2 separate regions of the Homo sapiens genome follow, and region 1 is linked to region 2. The links are contacts of gene promoters, found by promoter capture Hi-C in human tissues and cell types (Jung and others, 2019). All regions are on one chromosome and are shown on one strand. Each heading gives the region's core, a stretch centred on a gene start or on the middle of the fragment in contact. The rest is flanking DNA. Distances are from core to core; before and after follow the strand shown.

Region 1 (3,954 bases), core at 241-2,740, 1.1 Mb after region 2:
TAGATGCATGCTGTGGGGGTTACTGTGGTTCACTATCCAACAACTGATTCTCATCAGCAGGTTATTCTAAGAGGATTATAGGCTCCCTTTCCCCTTCAATGACTGATGGGGGAGTGGGCATGGACCCAGTGCAGATAAAATGGAAATGTCTGCTGCATGTCCTTATGGAAAAGGTTTCCAGGCTCCAATAAAGAACAGGAGAAGAGAAGGTCCTGCTCCTGGATGTTGTTGAGTCAGATAATGCCTGGATCAGCTGTGGCCACCTTGCCATCTCTGGAGGATGACGCCAATCCCTCAAAGGCAATGGGAGACCAGAAAAATGCAGATAGTCTCCAGAGCCTGACATCCATGCCTAGACCGCATTCTGACTCCGAATTTCTTGTTACATAGCACCATGGATATCCTTGCTGCTTGGATTGGTCTGAGTCACTGTATTCAGTCGCTTATAGCCTAATGCAGACCAACAATGCAGACACTGATTAGACTGGCCCATCCATGTGGAGCCAGGGAGGTCACACACATTTCATGGGGAGCCCTGGATTCTATGTTTATGTTGGCCTGGGGCGGCTGCTGTCTCAGCTTCCTCCACTGAAAAAGTAGAAAATGTCTATTCTATAACCCCAAGTGTGGATTTATGATCAGATGAGATAATGCATAGGAAAGCATTTCAAGCTGTATAAATTGTCAAACCAGTGTAAAGAAATGAGAAAACAGCATCTTTCAGGATGAAAGGATTGACAGCTAATAGCTAGAATTATGTCATATCAACAATCCATCCATCCAGTCAAGTCAGTCAGAGCACTGTCAAACCTGTTTACTGTTGCAGAGACCAAAATAACCACATATTCTACAACAGACCTCCACCTATAATTAACCTTTCAATTAAATGAAGACAGCCTCAGCATTGTGTGAGTGCTAAGAGTGGTTAAAGGGTGGAGGCACTGGGCAGAAGCAGGTCCACATCAGCTAGGATGATTTCAGCTGCAAGGAACCAGCACCTAACTCATCCTGACTTAGAAAATAATTTACTGGCTCAACTACGAAGAGTATAGCAGTAGGACATTTACCTGAGGATTTCAGGTGAGGAGTCATTCAGTGGTTCAGTGACATAGCCTAAAATCCAGCTTCCTTCTTCCTCTGCCCTCTGTCTTTCATGGTATTGGCCTTATATTCCCAAATGTCCAGGGAGTAATTGCTAGACATATCCTCAAGTAAGATCACGCATTTAGTCACTGCACTTGACTGTGTAAAAAGCATAAATTTCTTCAATGAAAAGAATATAAATATATCCAATTTTTATAACCTGTTTCAAGATTCCTTCATTTTTCAATGTATTGGAAGCTTCAGGAATTGACAATAGCCTGGGCTCCCTCGATCATGAAGAAGTCCTGTTTGTCCTGATATAACTGATGATTGGTCCTGAAACTATTTGCCTGAAAACTTTCTTCCTGGAATGCAGCTTGTCTTCATCCTGCAAACACACACTTCGATACCTGCATTTGTTGAGATGGGCTGAAATGACCCAACAACAGATCCCCACTTTCACTACAGACATAAAGAAATGTTTGTACTTGAGATGGTAGCAACAGGCCCCAACTCTACATGTCTCCCACTGAGATTTGAGAAAGTAAAGAAAAGAAGACAAACCTTGCTTACATTAATTTACTGTCACCCACTGTGGCTGAAATGCTCATTAGAATCTGGCATTTATACATAATTTTAAATTGGCCCAGGTCTTCTAATCCTTCTAATGAGTTATTTCCCTCCACTGGCCATAGATGTTAAGGCAACCATCAGTCTTTACACCCATGTAAATATTTTTGTACTTATTTTGTGGTGAAAGTTGACAGGGAGCTTGGTGTCACAATGAAACTGTGTGTAGAAACCAGAGAAGACTAAGTGCTAACAAGCATAAGCCACATCCCCAGGGTTTTGAACAACCATGGTCTGGTCTTTCTCAACTCAATTGAATATGTATTCCTTTACATAAGCAAGCCAAATACCAAATGGAAATTATATTAGACATGCAGAAACATCAGCAAACCTCAATCTCTAGTCAAGCAGAAAGAAATAGCAATCAATTAAACTCACCCGGAAATCAATGCCTGAATCTATTTTGTCTGACATCATATATCCTGGCAGTACACAATTTAAGACAAAACAAACTCACCCATTTCAGAGATTAACATCTACGCCCCTTAGCTGTAAGGACTTTTGGAACAAAAATCCTAAAATTGAATTTTACTCTATTCATTCCATCAGTAGGTCTAGGAATGAAGCTCCATTTATTGAAAAACATAAAATTCCTGACATTTCACTATAAGTCCTCTTCTCCATTTTCTTTGAATTAATCTGATGTAGAACCTGTTATAAGCAGATCATCCCTGTTAGACACCAGAGGTCATGTCATTAATATATCTGCATGCCCAAGGCACAGTAAATCATACAGTATACAGTCATTGCTCAATATATGTGGGCTAAAGTTTGATGAGACTTCAGAATACCCACCTTAATAAACACTTGACTATTTGAACTTCCTATCTCATAGTGTCATTTAGATGCTGCCTTTCCTCAGGTGGCTGGCCATGTGTTTGTGACTGTATAATATTCATTCTTTGACCAAACAGAAAGTTCTAGAAACAGCATTCTTGAAAGCTATTCTATCACATAACCTTTGTTAATGTAAAGCTAGAATAAATAAGTGTCTGTTGTATTTCCCATTAGGGTAGTTGACTAGAGGGGATTCATTTTATCACTTCTAAAATCTCAAAGGATTACAGGTTGCTTTTTCATAGGAATTTTAAAAAGTCAACGATCCATCAGTAAATGTATATCTGACCATTCTTGCTTTTGCATCCTTAGAGAGAAAGACAGATGGACAGCTCAACATTCACATTCTCCTCAAACTGCTCCTTCTTTTACCCTCAAATACAGAACAGCAAAGCTTCTGCCAGCATTTCAAGTCAGCCTTGCTATTGTTCCTTTAGCAAGCCTGGAAACAGTCAGGCTAGACAGAGCAGTGACTAATATTCCAGAAGTTATTTAAAATTCCACAAAAGATGTCTGTTGTGATTTCTGCCTGCCCAATGTTCATTCTCCCTTTTCTAGGTTGTGGAGACAAAGTTTCCACCAAAGAACTACCCTCTGCCATTTGGCGTATGGGAGGTTGAACCCATATTGTGGTTTCAGAGGTGGGCCTGGGACCCAAGCTTGGCCAATGGACAGCATCCCCCTGGCCAAGTGATGTGCTTAGGGCTGCAAATGTGACCACAGCTAGGCTAACGAGAGCCTTAGTGCTCTTTATAGCAGGGTTGCTAAACTGGTAAGATGTGGCCAGAAACTCCTGGTGACCACCTTCATCACCAGGTGGAAAGACACGAGAACAGGAACTGATTCCTGAGGACGCCATTTATGCACCTGGATCCACCATGCCTGGGATGCTGGCTTCTGGCTTTTCCATTATATGAGACAATAAATTCCCTTTTAAAAGGGAAATGAACCTATGTTTTGAGCTGGATTTCAGTAACTAGAAGACTACAGAATTGTCGGGCAGTCCAGAGAAACGTCTTTTTGGAAAAATAGATGAACTAAACTTTGTAAATAAGCTAATTAGAACAGAAACACAGTCTGGGATATTTCAGTGCAATTCTTTTCAACATACTCAATTTAATCTGATGTCTTAGAGTTATAGAAACCAAGGAGGTGTTTCTCTGTATTGTCATTCTGAAACCACCCCCACTCTAAAGTTAGCCTGGTCCTATATCATACAATTAAGTATGCATGGGGATTCGTGCCCTAATTACCCAATAGTTGTGCTGAAGCCTTGGTCTTAAGAGTCCCATTAATATTTCCCAGCAATGACAGATGAAAGTGCTGAGAACATTATACTGCAATTAGTGGTTGACCCACAAAAATAGAATTATTCTTTGTTGCCGTCATATAATTGATTCAAAT
Region 2 (3,589 bases), core at 1,058-3,557:
GGGAAGCCAGGCCGGCCAGGGCCTTATTGGCAGAGGAGACGCCTGAGAAATGACCAAAAGGCAGAGACAGAAGACTTCAGCCGCTGCTCCCGAAGCCACTAAGGGCAGGGAGGCCAAAGTGTGGGCGGCTCTGCTCAGACCATTCGCGCTTTAGGCCCACCGCTCTGCGCTCTTGGTAAGGCGGAGGAGGCAGCTTCTTGTCTCCTCTCCAGGTCACCGGGAGGGAGGAGAAAGAGGAGAGAAAGGAAGAAGATTCTCTAGGACTAGGTCCGGAGCCGGTCGAAGAAGGCAGCTCTGCGGGAGGCTGCCGGTGGCTGGGGTGAGGAGGCAGTGGGGGCGCTTCCACCTTCTAGTCTTCAGCCCGCATTTTCACCCTCGGAGCCCCCATCTCCAGCCCAGGCAGGGAGACGGCTCCCCTAACTGACCGGAAAGGGGGTCTCCTCCTGTCCTCCGGAGCTCGCTCGCCTTTCCTGCTCAGTGGGGAAGTCTAGAGCCCATGGCACAGGGCCAGGGAAGGATGGGGTGGACGACAGGGCCCTCCGACCAAGCTTCTGGGAGGGGGCGTGACAGGCAGGAGGAGGTGGTGGAGGGAGAGGCAGTGTGTGCAAGCGGGAAGCCAGCCCCGCTGAAGGAGCAGGAGCACAGCGGTGCTTGGCTCCCCGGCGAGCGCAGGAAGCCTCGGGTGCAGCCCGCACCGGGCAGTGGCGCCTCCCGCCCGCCGCCTCCTCCAGCTCCGCGCGCTGCCGTCGCCCGCCCATGCTTCGACTCCGGAGGCCGCCCCCAGCCCGGAGCTCCAGGCTTCCCGACGCCGGCACCGCGGAGGGCGCCCCTCTACCCCCAGCACCGAGGGAGGAGAGCGGGACGCAGGGTCATTCCTTACGAAAAGCTCTAAACCGCGGCTTTCTTCATCGGCCACGAAGCTCCAAATCGCACCCGCAGCCCGGTGGGAGGCTCAACTCGCCCAGGAAAGTTTCCGCCCGCCCGAAGCGTGTGCCCAGCGCGTCCCCCAGCGCCCCGCGGCCTCGGAGCGGGCCTCCCGCCGCTGGCACTTGTTTATTTCCGAGGTTACAACAGCGCTGCCCGGGAGAAGGCAGCGAGGCCGATCGGCCACGAGAGGGGGTTCCTGCAACTCCCGCCGCCCCTCCGCCTCCGCCCAGGGGCGCCCCCGGAGCCGCCGCGCTCTCTGCCCCCGCGGGCCGCGCACCTCGCCAGGCGCAGAGCAAAGCTGGCAATCCGGCCCGCGGGGCTCTGCAGAGGCAGCGGGAGACCCGCTCGCCCTCCCGGGGCGCCCTCCCGCGCCGCGCCCGCCCGGCGTCCGGCTTCCCGGCCCAAGCCCGGCCCAGCTCCCAGCCCCCGGGGCCCCGCCGGACACGCAGGCTCCAGCCCCGCCGAGGGCTCGGGGGTGAGAGTGCCCCGCAGTCCTACCCCGCCGCCCACCCGCAGCGCGGGTCCTGCCGGCACCCACAGAACTGAGCGGCGCCGCTAGACGGACCCCCAGGCCTTGGGCAGGAGAGGTCGGGCAGGCGCCCCGCACTCGCGGATCCCTGGCCCGCAGCCGCCGGGCGCCCCACGCCTTCAGCCACGGCCGGGGCTGGGCTCGGCAACTCCCGCGGCGCGCGGCTCCCGGGCGATGGAGGGCGCGCCGGCTCCGCCAGTGGAAGCCTGCCCCATGCAGGCAAGCCGAGCTCCGGGTAGCGGCTACGGGCTTTGGGCGTTCGAGGGAGGCTCGGCGGGTCCGGTGCAGGCGGAGCTCCCCGGGTCCTCCACCGAGCCCCACTCCCACCCTGCTCCGCCGCTCCCCGCTGCCCAGGCGGCTTCCCGCTCCTGCCGACCGCAGGCAGCTTCGCCGAGCGCGGGCGCCGGGCTGGATGCAGCGGGGAGCGCGGCGGGGGAGCCCGGGAGAGCCCCGCCGGGTGTGTGAGCGCCCCGCGGGATCCGGGGACGACCTCCCGCTGCCCGGGGCTTCCGAACGGCGGGGGCGGGAGGCGGCAACTTACCCGGAGCGCGCCGGAGAGCGAGAGCAGCAGAAGGAGCACGCCGGCGCCCGCGGTCATCTTCCCCGCCGCCCGCCCGGTGCCCGGCACCGGGAGCCCGCTCCCTGCCGCCGCCGCCGCCGCCGCCGCCGAGACCACCGCCGCCGCTCCGATCGCCGCCGCCGCCGCCGCTCCCCCGCGCCTGCCCGGAGCCTCCAGCCCCGCTGCGCCCGCCGCGCTCGCCGCCCCGGCTCCGGGAGCCAGGCCAAGTCCGGCCGGCGGCGCGTTCCCTCGGGCCGGTGCGTCCGCCGGCCTCGCAGCCGCCCGCGCCTCTGTTCCGCGCGCTCGGAGCTGCAGGTGAAGCCGCGGCCGCCCCGCCGAGGCCCCGCCCCGCCGCCCGGCCCCTGCGCTCGCTCTGCCGACGCGGGCCTTAAAGGCGCAGAGCCCGCGCCCGCGCCCCCCGCGCCGCACCAGCCCAGCCTCTGCCCTCCTGGACGTCTGGAGCCGCCCGGTTGCGGCCGAAGAGGCCAAGGACGCTCGTTTTCCAGGGGAAAAAGGCGCGGGTGTGGAGACTGAAGACAGCGCTGGGGTTTCCGCCCCCACACCCGGGGCACCCTTTCTGGATGGGGCGGTCCCGCCGCGGTCTTAGTCCGACTTCCCGCCCGGGCCCGCGGTGGGAGTGTGCACTTCCATTCTGTCCTTTTATTTTTCAGGTGTCTCCTTGCTAACTCCCCTGACCCGGGCTTGAACCCAGGTCGGGCAGCTCAGGGGTGAGAGTTTCCACCTGGAGCAGATGAGCAGAGGGCCACGCTGAGATTTCAGCCTGTGGGGCTTTGCAGACCCTCCCGCTCCTAGGAAAACTCAAAGCCCTGGCCTGGGCTAGGGATGTACCCTAGGATTGGGGACGGTAGTAATTCCTGTGTGTGCATCAAAACACCCTGTTAGGCCTCAGAAGCCAAGAAAGAAATTAGAAGCTCCAAGAAAGAAAGAAGTGCCCAGACAGGAGCTGTCAGGAGTGTCTGCGCCGACAGGCTGGGCCAGCTCCAGCTCCCTTTGCCCTGCATGGGTGATGGCTGAACTGGGGGGCACTTCTTTAAGGGTTATCAGGTAAAATATATGTACAGGTCGGACAGTGAGTAAATGTTTCTGCACTTTTCCTTTTGGCTTGGAGATTTAAAGAAACGCGGTTTTGTTTGTTCAGATACATCGAATTTTCTTTGTCTGGGGTTTCAGGGACTCTGTGTCCAGAATACATTAGTTCTGGTTTAAGAAATAGGTTGCAAAGGAGAGGGTGGAAGATTGAGTGACACTGTTGAGCTCCAAGATCAGAGTCCACTTGGGCAAGCCAGTAGAGAAAGCTACAGAGCAGCCGCTTCCCTCTCTCCCTCCCAGAACCCCCACCCTTGGGGGCAGGGTGGTCTCCCGGTTAGAGCTCTGCCTTACGCTTAAGGAAACCAGATTTTAGATAACCCCAGAGGACCAGAGTAAGCACTACATCCGAGAGCACAAGGCGAGATTCGGTTTTGCAACTTAACTATGGAACTAGTCAGGAGACACAAAATCTGCCCCAGCCTGGACTCCTATCAGTTATGGCCTTGTCCCACTCCCCACCTAGC

Evidence for each region. Contacts are between HindIII fragments. The study calls those that stand out against the background at their distance.
Region 1: a fragment that was not itself captured here is called in contact with the fragment with the promoter of CDH4 in region 2 in 1 of the 25 tissues and cell types used here (dorsolateral prefrontal cortex).

The regions. Positions count from the first base shown.
Region 1 is chr20:60,165,970-60,169,923 of GRCh38, reverse strand. All of the region lies in intron 2 of MIR646HG (MIR646 host gene), which reads right to left. Among named protein-coding and RNA genes, the nearest start is that of MIR646HG, 29 kb to the right of the region's middle. The HindIII fragment of the contact is 4,329 bases long and covers 1-3,654 here.
Region 2 is chr20:61,250,979-61,254,567 of GRCh38, reverse strand. CDH4 (cadherin 4) reads right to left here and starts at 2,307. Exons shown (of 16, transcript NM_001794.5): 1 at 1,998-2,307. The coding sequence starts at 2,054. RefSeq lists an enhancer at 1-203. The HindIII fragment of the contact is 10,940 bases long and covers 1-3,589 here.